Linked DNA regions of Homo sapiens: region 2 is linked to region 1. The links are contacts of gene promoters, found by promoter capture Hi-C in human tissues and cell types (Jung and others, 2019). All regions are on one chromosome and are shown on one strand. Each heading gives the region's core, a stretch centred on a gene start or on the middle of the fragment in contact. The rest is flanking DNA. Distances are from core to core; before and after follow the strand shown. Region 1 holds the start of BRINP2 (BMP/retinoic acid inducible neural specific 2). Region 2 overlaps ASTN1 (astrotactin 1).

What was found. The method cuts DNA at HindIII sites, captures the fragments that hold promoters and counts their contacts. A contact is called where the count stands out against the background at its distance.
Region 2: a contact is called between a fragment that was not itself captured here and the fragment with the promoter of BRINP2 in region 1, in 1 of the 25 tissues and cell types used here (dorsolateral prefrontal cortex).

The regions. Positions count from the first base shown.
Region 1 is chr1:177,167,549-177,174,136 of GRCh38, reverse strand. BRINP2 (BMP/retinoic acid inducible neural specific 2) reads right to left here and starts at 3,179. Exons shown (of 8, transcript NM_021165.4): 1 at 2,405-3,179. RefSeq lists enhancers at 2,363-2,951, 2,952-3,541. The HindIII fragment of the contact is 8,375 bases long and covers 1-6,588 here.
Region 2 is chr1:176,912,249-176,918,836 of GRCh38, reverse strand. The region is part of intron 16 of ASTN1 (astrotactin 1); the gene reads left to right. Among named protein-coding and RNA genes, the nearest start is that of MIR488, 110 kb to the left of the region's middle. The HindIII fragment of the contact is 7,253 bases long and covers 382-6,588 here.

The sequences.
Region 1 (6,588 bases), core at 1,930-4,429:
CCCTTTTCCAAGAAGGGGGCTAAAATCATTTTAGCTTTACTTCTTAGGGTAATCAAAGATAAATGAGACAATAAGCCGTGTGAGGATTAATTAGATGAGCTCTGGAAAGTGCTGTCAGCCCTTTGGAAGAGGATGCCATTATAAAATGTATACAAGGTCTTATTATTTAAGAGAAAGAGTTGAATCACCAAAAATACACTGCGCAGTGGGGAAAACAAAACACTAACCAGGAAACCTCAACTAAGCATCCCAGTCAGCAGAAAGTGCCCACGCAGATGTCTCAAGTCCCTCCAGATTACCTCTTGTTTGTGAGTTGGGGAGGGATTTCAGAGCAGTGCCTCAAGGGAGTGTATCATTTTTCTGTGATGCTCTCCAGTGGCCAGCCTGTGTCTTGGGAAAGGGGATCAGGAGAAGGTGATGACACAGGGTTGTTCTTTGCCCTTTGGCCTTGTTCAGTAAACAACCTGTCAGGAGGCCAGAAAGGAGCACGTAGAAGATAATTTTGAGGGCCAAAAAGGGAAGATGCTCCCCATCTTTGAGACCAGCCCCATGCTGACAGAGCAGGAACCTTCCTCCTTCCCCAGCCCTTTTCTCCTCACCTCCTTTCTTGTGCCCACACTGCAGCACACATCACTCCATTCTGGGAGACAAAGCCAGCTCCATTTTTGGTGAAGAGGGGAAGTAAGAGTCAAGAATGCTCCTGTCTTCTCCATGGCTGCAGCCCAGCTGTCAAACACTTTGGCGCCAGCTGACCTCCAGAAGGGGAGACTATGGTGTGACATTTGCTTCCTTTATCTCAAATATTTCACAATATACATGCTCTGTGCCTTTTCAAATTATATCCTCCTCAAAGAAGCAAGGCATGCATCTTTTCCTAGAGTAGGCAGCAGCTCTGATATTGATAAGACAGGATCATTGTGGCAGCATGTCTCGGTCATGCCCTCAGTGCTGCAAAGCAACTTATTCTGGGTGAAGGGGGACTCCAGAGGGTCATGCCTTAAACAAATAACATACACACAACTGTGTGAGTCAGGAGGGAAAGCACACAAACTCCAGCATCACTTTGCTGTTGCCTGATGTCATCAGACTGCCCCCCGGGGGATTTGGTATACTTTAGTTGCTTGGTTAATACTGGCATTGCATGTATTTTAGCGAGCATGGTCAGAGAGAGTCACTTCAACATGCACATGTCTGGAGAAGGACAGAAGCAGAAATACTTGACTTATAATATACCTTTTATCCCTCTGATTGGTCTATGCTGACATAACAATGTCCCTGCTGAATAAGGCCTAGATTACCCAACTATAAGCTTGACCTTTTATAATTGTTATCCTTTTAACAAAACATTTGTTTCTGCTCATAGCACCCTGCTCCTAGGGCTGCAAAGAGCACACACACAATTCTTTACAGAGGGGTCTGTTCAATCACATTACAGTGCATTAGCTTGAACATTGGTTAACATTTGGCTTAGGTCTATATACCCTGGATAAATATGTACCATGCAGAGGGACTGCTTGGTGAGGAGAAGAGTCCTCTGGGCTGGAACAACAGCTCACAAGTTCGTGTTCCTACTAGGCAGGAACACTCCAGGCATCCGTGATTTGGACAGGGTGCTGGACATGCTTGGTTCTTCTGTGGGCAGCCTGTTTCCTGCATACAGCTGTGAGCACAAGCACACATACATACACACACCACAGGCAGCATTCGACAGTGTACCCAGATGATCACAAAAACAGAGACAGAGATCTGCTAGATGATACCAGCACATCCCACCTTTCAGCACAGCAATGTTCTTCCCTAGTGTCTCCAGTGCTCTGCCAGGCTCAAGTCAATCAATGGGGCTTCTGCCACCACCCTGGGGAGACTATTTGCAACCTACAGGGTTCACTGTTTGGAATTTTATTTTCCTGACTGCATGTGCATGGGAAACATGCCATAGGGCTCTATGAGCACGATAATATAGATATCGTGCATTGTAACCTCAGCTCTTTGGGCTCCTTCCCAAACATAATGAACCTCCCAGCGTCAGCTGGGCAGGCAAAAGTCCTCGTCATCTTCTGCAATTATGCAGCCCTATTGAATTTTCTGAAGCTAATAGGAGTTGCACTAACTTTGAGGACTTAAACCAGGCAAAAGCAATATAGGTCAGGCAGGGAGCCCAAACCCTCTGACAGCCATGCAACACCAGGAGGCAATACCAGAGCAATCTCTAGCTCAACCCCAAAGTCCATTGCTCAACTCCACAAGACAGAAACTAGGAGAGGTGGCATCATTCCCTCTGCCTGCCACTGCCAGGCACCAGGGCAAGAGGGTTGTATGAGAGCAAAATGGTCCCTTTACCAACGGACACACCAAAAAGGACAATGAAAAGGGGAGAAAAATCACCGAAACCCTGCACTGTTACCTTGAATCCTTGCAAGAGCCCTCCTTGCTGTATCAGCTGCTCCCCAAACCTTCAACGACTGGGAGGAGACTCCTAAAAGATTCCAGGTTTTTGTGCAACATCTCCAGTGGCAGCTTTCCAAAGTTTTTACTTCATGATTTCTTGTGGTTCTTTCTCATTTGGGGAAACGCGAATGCCTCCCCCTCAGCGTGTGAGAGGGAGCGGATGTCTCTTTTCAAATTCTCTTGCTCCCCGCTTTACTGTCGGTGCCGCCGCCGCCGCCACCGCCACCGCCGCCAACGTTAGACCACTTGCCTGCTGCCTTCCCGCTGAGCAGCCAGGATCCCGGTCTCCCAGAGCATCTTTGAAGTGGGGCTTCGGCACTGGGCCGGGGCGCACGCGGGGTGGGAGAGGTAAGGGAAGTGCAAGACCCAACTGGGGGAGTCCCCTGTCCCTCCGCCGAGGAGAAACCCAAGATTTTGCCTTCTTTCCAACTCTAAAGAGACTCACCCACCCGCTCTCTCACCCGAAATCACTGCCTTGCACATGGGCAGAGACAGGTCTTCCGGCTTCACCGCTCCCTCGGCTGCCTGCAGACCTGCCACTGACCTCGGAGCGCACGGCAGGTGCACATCCCCGGGCAAGTCCTAATGGGATCCTCCGAGCTCAGCGTAAGCGCTGCCAGCGCAGCGGCGAGCAGCTTGCGAGGCAGGCGGATTGCATCCCAGAGCTGCAGCCCGGCGCGTCCCCGCTCCGACTCCGCGCTCCGTACCTAAGCAGTGTCACCTGCAGACTCAGACACCAGATGAGTGTCTTAAGATAACAATGCTGCCCTGCCTGCCTCTCTCTTTCTTTCTTATGCATGTAGGTTGGCAGCCAATGGGACACAGCGCCACACTCCCCACAGGTGCCCATTGGCTGGGCGGCTTGGCAGGGGGCGGGCTCTGAGCCTCACCGCTCTCTCCTTTGGTGAGCTGGCAGGCTGGGGTACCAGCTCTGTTAACCCTCCCAGCGTTGCAGTGGGGACTTTTTGGTGTGTATAAGGAAGCCTTGGGTACATTCACGGGTGGGGCGTTGGACACTCTTAAAAAGGCTGGGGAACAAGAAGTAGCTGGGGAGCTAATTACATTTTCTTCTAATCTTCCTGAGTTACAATAATCATTTATCCCAGCCCATTTTGTTTGCTTGCTTAACTAGAACTCCCAGAGATTGGGACCCATCTGAGCCATTTTCCATCTAATTTGAGGTTTCATTTGGTTGTTTTGTGCATTTTTTAGCCTCTTGGATTACTTAATTAGAAATGAGCCCCCAAGTGAGAAATAGTACACACACACACACACACACACACACACACACACACCCCAGAGACCCAAGAGGAGAGAGAGGCAAAAGAGAGCAAGAACCCAGTAAGATGGCTAGAGAGTGAAACAGATTTAGAGGCCAGGACAGCTAAATCAGGAAACATTCTGCCCCCACACCAGGACTGTAAGGACAAAGGCAAAGAGGAGAACTTCAGGTTTCTGGGGAGAGATTAAGTTTCAAAAATGTCCCTCCAAAAAAGGGAATTGTTTTGCCTGTGGTGTTTTCCCTCTGTGTGTCTCCTTTCACTTCTGTGTGTGTCAGGAAGAGGGACTGTGCATCTCCGTTTAGTTTTTAAAGGAAGACTAGAGAAATCAGAACAGGACCAGCCTTGTTTCTGTGAAGCAGGTGCTGTTGCTGGGCCTGTGAATTGAAAGAGAGGGAGGGAGGAAAAAAGGGAGGGAGGTGGAGGGAAAAGGGAGGAAAGGAGAAGGGAAGAAAATATTAACTTTACATTGAAGTGTGAAGTATATATTTTTGATATCCTAATGAGGGTACAAAACTGAAACATGTCCCGCTAACTAGCATACTAAACTAGATTTTGGCAGGAGCATAGGAAAAAGAGTAATAGTTGAAGAAAAATCCAATTCAAGGGAAGAGCTGGGGGCTGGAGCTGGGGAAGGAACTTGGGAGATCCATGCTAAGTCATGTGGTGGGGGAAGTATGAAGAAGATAAATATATAGTCAGAAAGCGAGAGGAGTCTTTCAATTTAGTTTCCTTAAATGGAGAGCAACATCGGAGATTATTTTGTAAAGAACTAGAAAAAAAAAGTATGTAGAGATTTAATGAATGTGTAAGAAGTACACATGGAGATTAGCTAAACTGCATCAAGTAGCCGTAAGTTCTGAATGAATAAAGAAAAATTAGAAATTTTCTTCATTCATCCCCTCAGACTCACACATCTATCACTTTCACCTATATTTTCTTCTCTGTATCTTATACAACGTTGAACTTCCTTCTGCATACTGCAAGTATCTGTTTGCCTAAGCTACAAAACATGTCAGAGAATGGTGGTCCCACAGGGTCCTGAGCTCTCTTTCTAGAATAAAATAACCAAGAGAACCACTGAGAGCCTAAATCTATTGCTACCCAACTGCTGAGTTATTTACTTTTGTGATTTCTAGAGGCAGAGACCCACTGAACTTGTCCCAAGTGACAACATACTGAAATGTTAAAATAGCATAAGGGAGTGGGTAAATAGAGGGAGAGGTTGAACAAAGGATTGCTAATTTCAATGGAAAGAAAGTTAAAATTTCCAAAATCTGTAAAAGAGAGAGGAAAGAGGTGATGGCAGATAAGAAGACAACTTGAAAAAGAAAACTTGCTTGTACTTTCTTCTCCTATAAAGTCTGAAGCCGTGTAAAAAATTTTAAAGAGGCAGAATATACATTAAGAATTGCCACAAGTGTATAGTTTAATTCTTGCCTATATATGCATCAATGTAACCATTACTCACTTTATTTCCAGCACTGCAGGAAGCATGTTCGTGAACGTTCTCAGTCAAAACCCTCCACTCCCCAGAGATAATTATATTCTGACTTCCATCACCAAAGATTAATGTTACTTGCTCTTGAACTTTGTAAATATAGGATCTTAGAGTATACACTCTTTTGTGTCTTGATCCTTTCACTCATCATTTTGTCTCTGAGATTTATCCATGTAGTTGTATGTTTTATTGCGGTGCACCACTCTATTACATGACTACATGGCATTTATTCATTCTGTTCTTGATAGATATTTGGGATGTTTCTGGGGTTTTTTGGCTATTATAAGTAAACTTGTTATAAATGTTTTTGTGCTTGTCTTTTGGTGGATGTATGCAATCATTTCCTCTGGGAAAACACCAAGGACTATACATTACTTAATTTGCTTTGACTACTACACTGGAGAAAATCTCATGAAGATGACTCTGAAGCCTATTATCTTGCCAAAATAATTGAATAAGGTGATAGTGGCAAAGGCTATCGCTACTGAGTGCCAACTAAATGCCTAAAATGTGTCACATTGTTTACATACATAATCTCATTTCCTCCTCACAACCACCCCCAAAACTATGTATTATTCCTGTTTTGCAAATAAGAATATTGAATTTAAGACTTTGTATTAGGAAATAGCTCTTGCTTTCCTGAGTGTATGTGTATGTATATGTGTAGATGTTGGGGGAGATGTAAATAAATGCCCAGGGAATGGAGCTAAAAGAAGGGAAGTGATGGAAGTTCTCACTGCATAGGTGCAGCTGCAGATTAGCTTGGAGAGATGGGACAATCTGAAGAATAAAGAGTGTTGCACTTCAGGTGGACAGAATGTTATGGGAGGAGTGAAAATAGGAAATAGATTTTAATTTGATTGAGAGATGTGTGTGTCTGTGTGCACATGTGTGGTGGGAGGATAGAGATATAGTGCAGTGAGCAAACTATCTAAAAAACAGTGTGAGATTAGAAGAGTTTTAAAATTTCTAAACCATGGGTTTTCAGCTTTATCATGTAGAAAAAGAAAAACTAGAATGACATAATGAAAGTTAGATTTCATGAAGATCAACCTGGTAGTTGTGTACAGAATGCGTTGCTAGGAGGAAAAGGAATCAAAATCTATTTTAATAGTCAAGGAAAGAGGCCATTGGTGCTTAAATACAGGAAGGTGTATCTCAGGAGAAAAGTGAAGATTGGAGATAACAGCGCTTGCTGTTTTACAGTGTTTTAAAGAATAGAAATTTTCTGAGAATGAATAAATGCCATGTAGTCATGTAATGGACTAGTACACAGCAATACAATATTGAACTACATGGATAAATCTCACAGACATAATGATGAGTGAAAATATTAAGACACAAAAAAGCATATACTCT
Region 2 (6,588 bases), core at 2,759-5,258, 260 kb after region 1:
ATGCAGGGCCACACAGACCCCAGCTAGGCTACTGAGTAGGAAGCCACCAAGAGGAATGCACCACTTAGATTTTTGTTCTTTGAATCCCTCCTGCACTGGATGGAAAATGGCTTCAGGGGAAGCCAGAGTGGACACAGGGACACCATTTATTGACTAAAGCAGTAATCTGGGCAATGGAAAGGAAAGGACACAGAGAAGAAAGAACAGATCTAGGTTTGTTTAGGGGATAGAGAAACTTGGCAATAGAGTGGGGCTTGGGGAGGGAAGAGCAGAGGAAGAGGAACCAAAGAGTTCCTAGATATTTGCTTGAGTAGTTGATGATGTAGAAGTGCCAGTTACTATAATAATTTCAGAGCCAATGAGATGGAACATGTTGCCGGGGGGTGAGCAGTAAAGAGCTTCATGTAGGCCTGTCAATTTTGAGCTACCATAGAGATATCTAAGGGGAAAAGTGAAGGAGGCCATTGGATTTGCAAGTCTGGAGCTCAGAGGAGAAGTCAGAGCTGGAGATGCAAATCTGTGAGTTCTGGTGAATTCAACTAGTACCTAAATCCCTGGGGATAGATGAGCTTACCTAAGGAGGAAGACAGAGAAGAGAAGTAGGCTCAGGACCTAGCCCTGAGTTGTTCCCACTGTAAGAAGTAAGACAGAGGAAAGGTTGGGGTAGGGGGTGCCGCAAAGAAGACTACGAAGAAACAGTCAGGAATTAGGAGGATCACAGGAGGGCTGCAATGACAAAAGGAGTGAGTAGCTGTGTGTTGTGTGGCTGAGAGGCAGAGTGAGATTAGTAGGTCAAGCCTACTAATTATTGCCAAGTTCACTTAGAGAATAATAAAGTACTATAACTGCAAAAGCTCTGAGAAATAATGATGATGGAAATAGATATGCAGGAGTTTAAAATTATTAGTATTTTTGACATATACTGTTTTTCTCGCCACCCTGTGAAGTGAGAAGGTAGGTTACAATTTGTGACTGTGTTTGGTGAAGGCACGTGGTGAGTTGTGCCCAGTCCTGAAGGGCACCTTGCAGAACACAGCTTTGTCCCTTGAGGTGTCTCCAAGGTGAGTGTGCTGTCCCAGATGTGAGGATGCTGGCAGTAGGACCAGTCTGCACACAGGACATCTGTCCACAGACCCTGTGTCCTTGCACTGCGGCCCTCTCTCTCACCTGCTGGTAGCCCAGCACCCCTTACTCTACAGGGCAGAACTGAAACTGGAACCCAAGGCTTCATAATTCATCATCCTTCCCTCCCAAAGCAATGCATTTGTTTTCCCTTCTGCTAAAAACCAGGAGAACTCCAGAGGCTTGTCCCACTGCCCGGGCATGTCTTTGGCTTCTGGATCTGCCCACACTGCTGCCCCAGGATAAGCACGTCTTCCCACGGGGGTGCCAGATGAAGCATGGTCATCCACAGAACAGTTTTATTATTACTAGTCAATATTAACATGACAGCAAACGAAAGAAAATCCTTACTCTGCCCAGTTCTCACCGTGCCACCCCACCCTGGGAAGCGTTCCATTCCACACATACCTACAGCTACGTGTGATTGAGTGCCAGGCCCTATGGAAAGCATTAGGAATACATTGATGAATAAGAACTATGCCTGCCCTCAAGTTGTTCATCAAGTCTCTGGGAAGAGTCTAGGAAACCAGAAATTACAATGAGGTATGACAGGGGCTACCAGAGACCTGAGGAAAGGAAGCACCAAAGAGGAGGCTCCAGATCTGGATGGGGCAGGACTGAAGAGAACCTTCCTAGCAGGAGTGCTACCGCACTGAATGAAGGAGGGTGAGGGAACCTCAGGCTGACTCTGGGAAAAAGGAGTTCTAAAAAGGAAAAAAGCACAACCCTGGGTTGTGAGAAAGTGCTGTCCACCTGGCTAATGTGGGGTAAGTAGGGGAAGTGAGGCTGGAGAGAGGCTGGTTGTGGGCGGGGCGGGGAGGCAGAGGTTCAAAGGGCCAGCCTGCCATGCCCTCTTGCCTGATTTTACCTTCAAGTCCCTTGAGAGCTACTAAAGGATTTCAGCAGGAAAAGACATCTTCTGATTGTGCTTTAGAAACATACATGTAATGACAGCGTGGAGGATGCTTGGGAGATGTGAAAATGAGAGGGAAGTGTACCAGTCAGGAAAATTTTGGAGTAAACCAGGTGGGAGCTGCTGAGGGTCTGGATGAAGAGGGAAGAAATGTCTAGTGGAAAGTTGATATGACGTTAATTTAGGAAATACTGCCAATAGGTGACTCTTTGGATGTGGAGGGTGAGGGTGTGTTGAGCCATAGCAGTGCACACTCGTGGAAATCTCCTAGGGAGACATACATGGAAAACCTGTGGGCTCTGCGGGGACCCCCCTCAATGATGGCAAAGTAAGAATGTAGAGATCTTTCACCCAGACATTAAACTGGCTGACTTGGATTACTGAGCAGCAGAATTACTGCCTTTTTTGACAGTACAATTTGTTTCTGGATGCTGACATGTCTGGGGATGCCAAAGGCAGCACTCACCTTTCTGGGGTGTCTACCCCCAACTCTGGAGCTGCAGGCACACCTACCTTCCTGAGATATAAGGGAGGAATGGGGAACCTACATACTCATCTGCATCCTTATCTCACAAATAACCTGTGTTTGACCATGACCCCAAGGAGAAGCACCTCAATCCTAGCCCCAGCCGTTATTCGAACACAACCTTGAATCCAGATGGACTCAGTCATCTGACCTAGCACAAGAGAAAGGGTCAATGGTGAGTCTTTTCTAACTCCAGTTTTCAGATTCACTGTAGTAAAGATCCCAGTGATTTTTCCATTGAAAGCCATTTGGGTGGAGATAAACCAGGGACATGGGTGAAAGACTGAGAATGGGCAAGTTTCGGGTTTGTAAAACATTCTAATACCTCCCTGCAGTAGCTAGCAGTCATGTTTGATTCTTGCCATTCCAAGCATATGTTTTCTTGTTATCTTTTAATTGGTTTTAATTCTAAATTTAACACTAAACGGTCTATGATGGTAGTGACTGCAAGCACTAGCCTGGTGCATGTCAATTCCAGGGACATGTGAGACATCGGGACCTTATCGTGCCCTCCCTCTCCTCCCCGCATCACACCGCCTGCATTAAGAAGCTGGAGATTGCTCATTGTACCCTTTCCTGCCTGTGTTTTCATGTTTATAGATGTTGGGTTCTGGGGAACAAAGGGAGAGGAGTAATCTAAAATCCGAATGATACCACCGGAAGCTGTGTACGACAGCAGGTGAATGCCAATAGATTGGAAGCTGGTGTCAGCAGGCCCAGGATGCATGATATCCTGCATCCAGGAAAGGATTTCAGAAACTGTTGAAAACAACTGTGAAAAATCCAATAATCAAGTGTTCTGGAGGTTGCTGGGAAAGTCTGCTTTTGAAGATCTTGTACATCTGTAATGTGGAAGGAGGCTTGATGCAAGGAGGGGAGGAGGGTTTGGTAGTTAGATACTCAGTGCTTGCCTGATCATCAAACAGATGACTTAAAGCCTCCAAGCCTTAGTTTCTTCATCTGCAAAACAAGTTAATGAGAATATTGTAAGGACTAAGAGTCATAAGGCGGGTAGAACACCTGGCCCATGGTAGGTCCTCAGTAATGTAACTATTAGGGTATTTCCCAAAGTGGGCTCGGTAGCACGCTAATTCAATGAAATGATCTGCAAGAAGTGATTTTTATGTTCAAATTATTTTTGACCAACACTGTATGCTATATTTTTTCCTTGGGTACTTGTAATAAATATTAGAATTTTAATGGTTTTCAACGGTTGACAGGAAACCTGCTAATTTTAACTTAGATTTTCCCATTACATCAGAGCATGAAAATTTTTTTGTCTATTTGTGATTTTGAGTAATGATACTAAAGGACCCTAAAAGACAAAAGTTCTACAAACCTACTTAGAAAGATTCTGAGTTTTTATTATTATGCATCTTCTAATAAGAGGAAAGTTTTCTCTTTAACCTCCTCTATCCATATCTGGCACCAAATCCTTTCATTTCTTCTAAAATACCCCCTGGATTGTCCCTCATTCTCTGTACACGGTTGCTACCCCAGTCTGACTCCCAGACCTCCAAGGTCGCATTGTTGTTACAGCCTTTTGGCTATTTTTCCCTCCGGTCTACGATTCATTCAAATTTTCATTTGTTGTAAGTCATTTCACTGCCTGACTCAGTTTAACTCGGTTTAGTGCCATTCCTGTGTAGCTTCTGACCAAGGCAAGGCACTGCTTGCTTCCTAACTTGCTTCAGGCTCAAAATTCCTGGACTGGTTCTTCAGGACCCCATGCGGTATGACCCTAGCCTATTTATGTAAATTAATGCTTATTCTTTATCCAGTTAAAACCTCCATAACACAGAGTTAAGCTTTGTAATGACCTCTGTGGCCACCTTCACCTCTGTTTCTTTGACCTTATTGTCTCTGCCCTGAATAATTTACACTGTTTCTAACTACCTAGTCAGCGAAGCCTGCCCATTCTTCAGAACATATTCCTCCATGAGGCCTTTGGCGACTCCCCTGGGCCTCACTCATGTCCTCTCTCCTCCAAAGTCCTGTGACACTTATAGTCTCTACCATAGAATTTAGGACTGATTGACTACCCTGGAGTCAGACAGATCTGAATATAAGCTCCAACTTTTCTACTGATAATTCTGTGACCTTGGACAAAGTAATAAACCTCTCTGTTGCCCGGTTTTGTCATCTCTGAAATAGGAACTATTTTAGCACCAACCACTGAGATTCATATAGAGAACTGACAATGTTGAATTTCACCCTTCCCCATGAGACTTAGATAAGACTCATGATGCCCCCCTTGTTTACCTAAAATATAGCCAGATACACTCTTCAAATTCCCGTTGTTTGCCTTATAAGTCATTAGCTAAATTGTTTGTCTCTTCTAATCAATCACAACAAAATGCTTGTGAACCAAATGTTGGTTAAACTTTTCTTCTTCCCCCAAGCCCTTGAGCTTCGGCTCACCCTTAGCCTGAGCTGTGTATAGTGACTACTGAATGTAGGCTGGTTTCAGGTAAAACATTCTCTTATCTACTTTCCAATCATGATGCTTCTCCACACCAGATTCTTTGTAGCCTTGTTCACTTCTGTCTATAAAAGTTAAAAACTCTTTTTGTTCAACTCTAGAGATGCTTGCAGACTTTATCAGAGCATTCTTCCAAATTCAATGGCTTCCCTACCCTGCCCCAGCAATAATCGCTTAGAATAAAATTCTTCTAAATCCAAGTTTGTTTTTTATTTGACAGAATACATGCAAAGTGTTTAGCAGAGTGCCAGGGCATAGAAAATGTTTTAATAGTGAGCAGCTGTTATTATTACTATTATCACATGTTTGTTAGTCTTGTATCCCACATAGATTGTAAATCCTACCTTTACAGCTCCCACAGTACCTAGCCCAATGCTGGGCACATGCATTCATGGACGTGCACTGACTGATGAACCTATCAATAGCATCAGAAAGCCAACAACCCAATGTGATCCTACATTTGTGAAAAAACCCACAGACAGTATAAAGGACATTTTAGCTGTGTTTAGAGAAAGAAGAGGACCAAAGAAGAATTGAAATCACCACCTCCTGTAATCTTAATAGGTAATGGAGAGAACATGGCAACCCCTGTCTTCCTTCCATTCTCTCTGACACATAAAATTACCTTTAAACAAGAAGAAAGCAAGGAAGCCAAGTAAGAGAGAATTGTTGCTTAAATCAGTGAGAGAAGGAAAGAGAGAAATGGGCAACTTTGATAGAATTTGATCTTCCAGCAGGGGAGAGCAAGATCTTCAAGCATACCTGTTACCTGCAGGGGTGGGCACGACCTTCCGTGGGATCATGGATGGTGGAGAGAAGTTGGAACAAATGCTAGAAGGCTGTTCTTTTTTCTTCAAATATGGGGGAATATTATATTCTGAAAAGTAGAGCTTATTAACATTATATCTTTCCTGTGCTTGACTTGTGAAAACAGAGAATGTAGTAATCGCAGAGATCTAAAATGAGCTTGCTATGAGAAAGCCATGATAGCAAGCCTCATATTCTTTGTTAAAACTACTTTTAGATTTTTAAATTCCTTTGGCTAAAGAAAACCTACTCATTCCACCATCCCCCTGTGTTCCTTACCATTATGGGAGGTAGTATAGCTTAGTGGTTAAAAGAAAGGCCTTTGAAATCTGTATGACCTAAGTTCTCTAAACTTCATCTTGGATATCTAGAAAATGGAAATGAGTATACCTGCCTCAAAGAGCAGGTCTAAGAATTCAATGAGAATGGGTATACTAAAGCATTTATTTTTAATGAACAGTCAGGGGTCAGCAAATTATGACCTGCAGGCAAATCTGGTCTGCTACCTGTTTTTATATGGCCCTCAAGCTAAGAATGGGTTCTACCTTTTTAAATGATTGAAAGATAAAACTAAGAAAGAAAAACAATATTATGTGCCATGAACATCATAAATAAATTTTACCATCCATAAATAATGTTTTATTGAAGCAGAGCCATGTGCATTTGTTTACATAATACCCATAGCTGTGTTTGCACTACAAAGGCACAGTTGAGTAGTTGCAACAGAGACTGCATGGC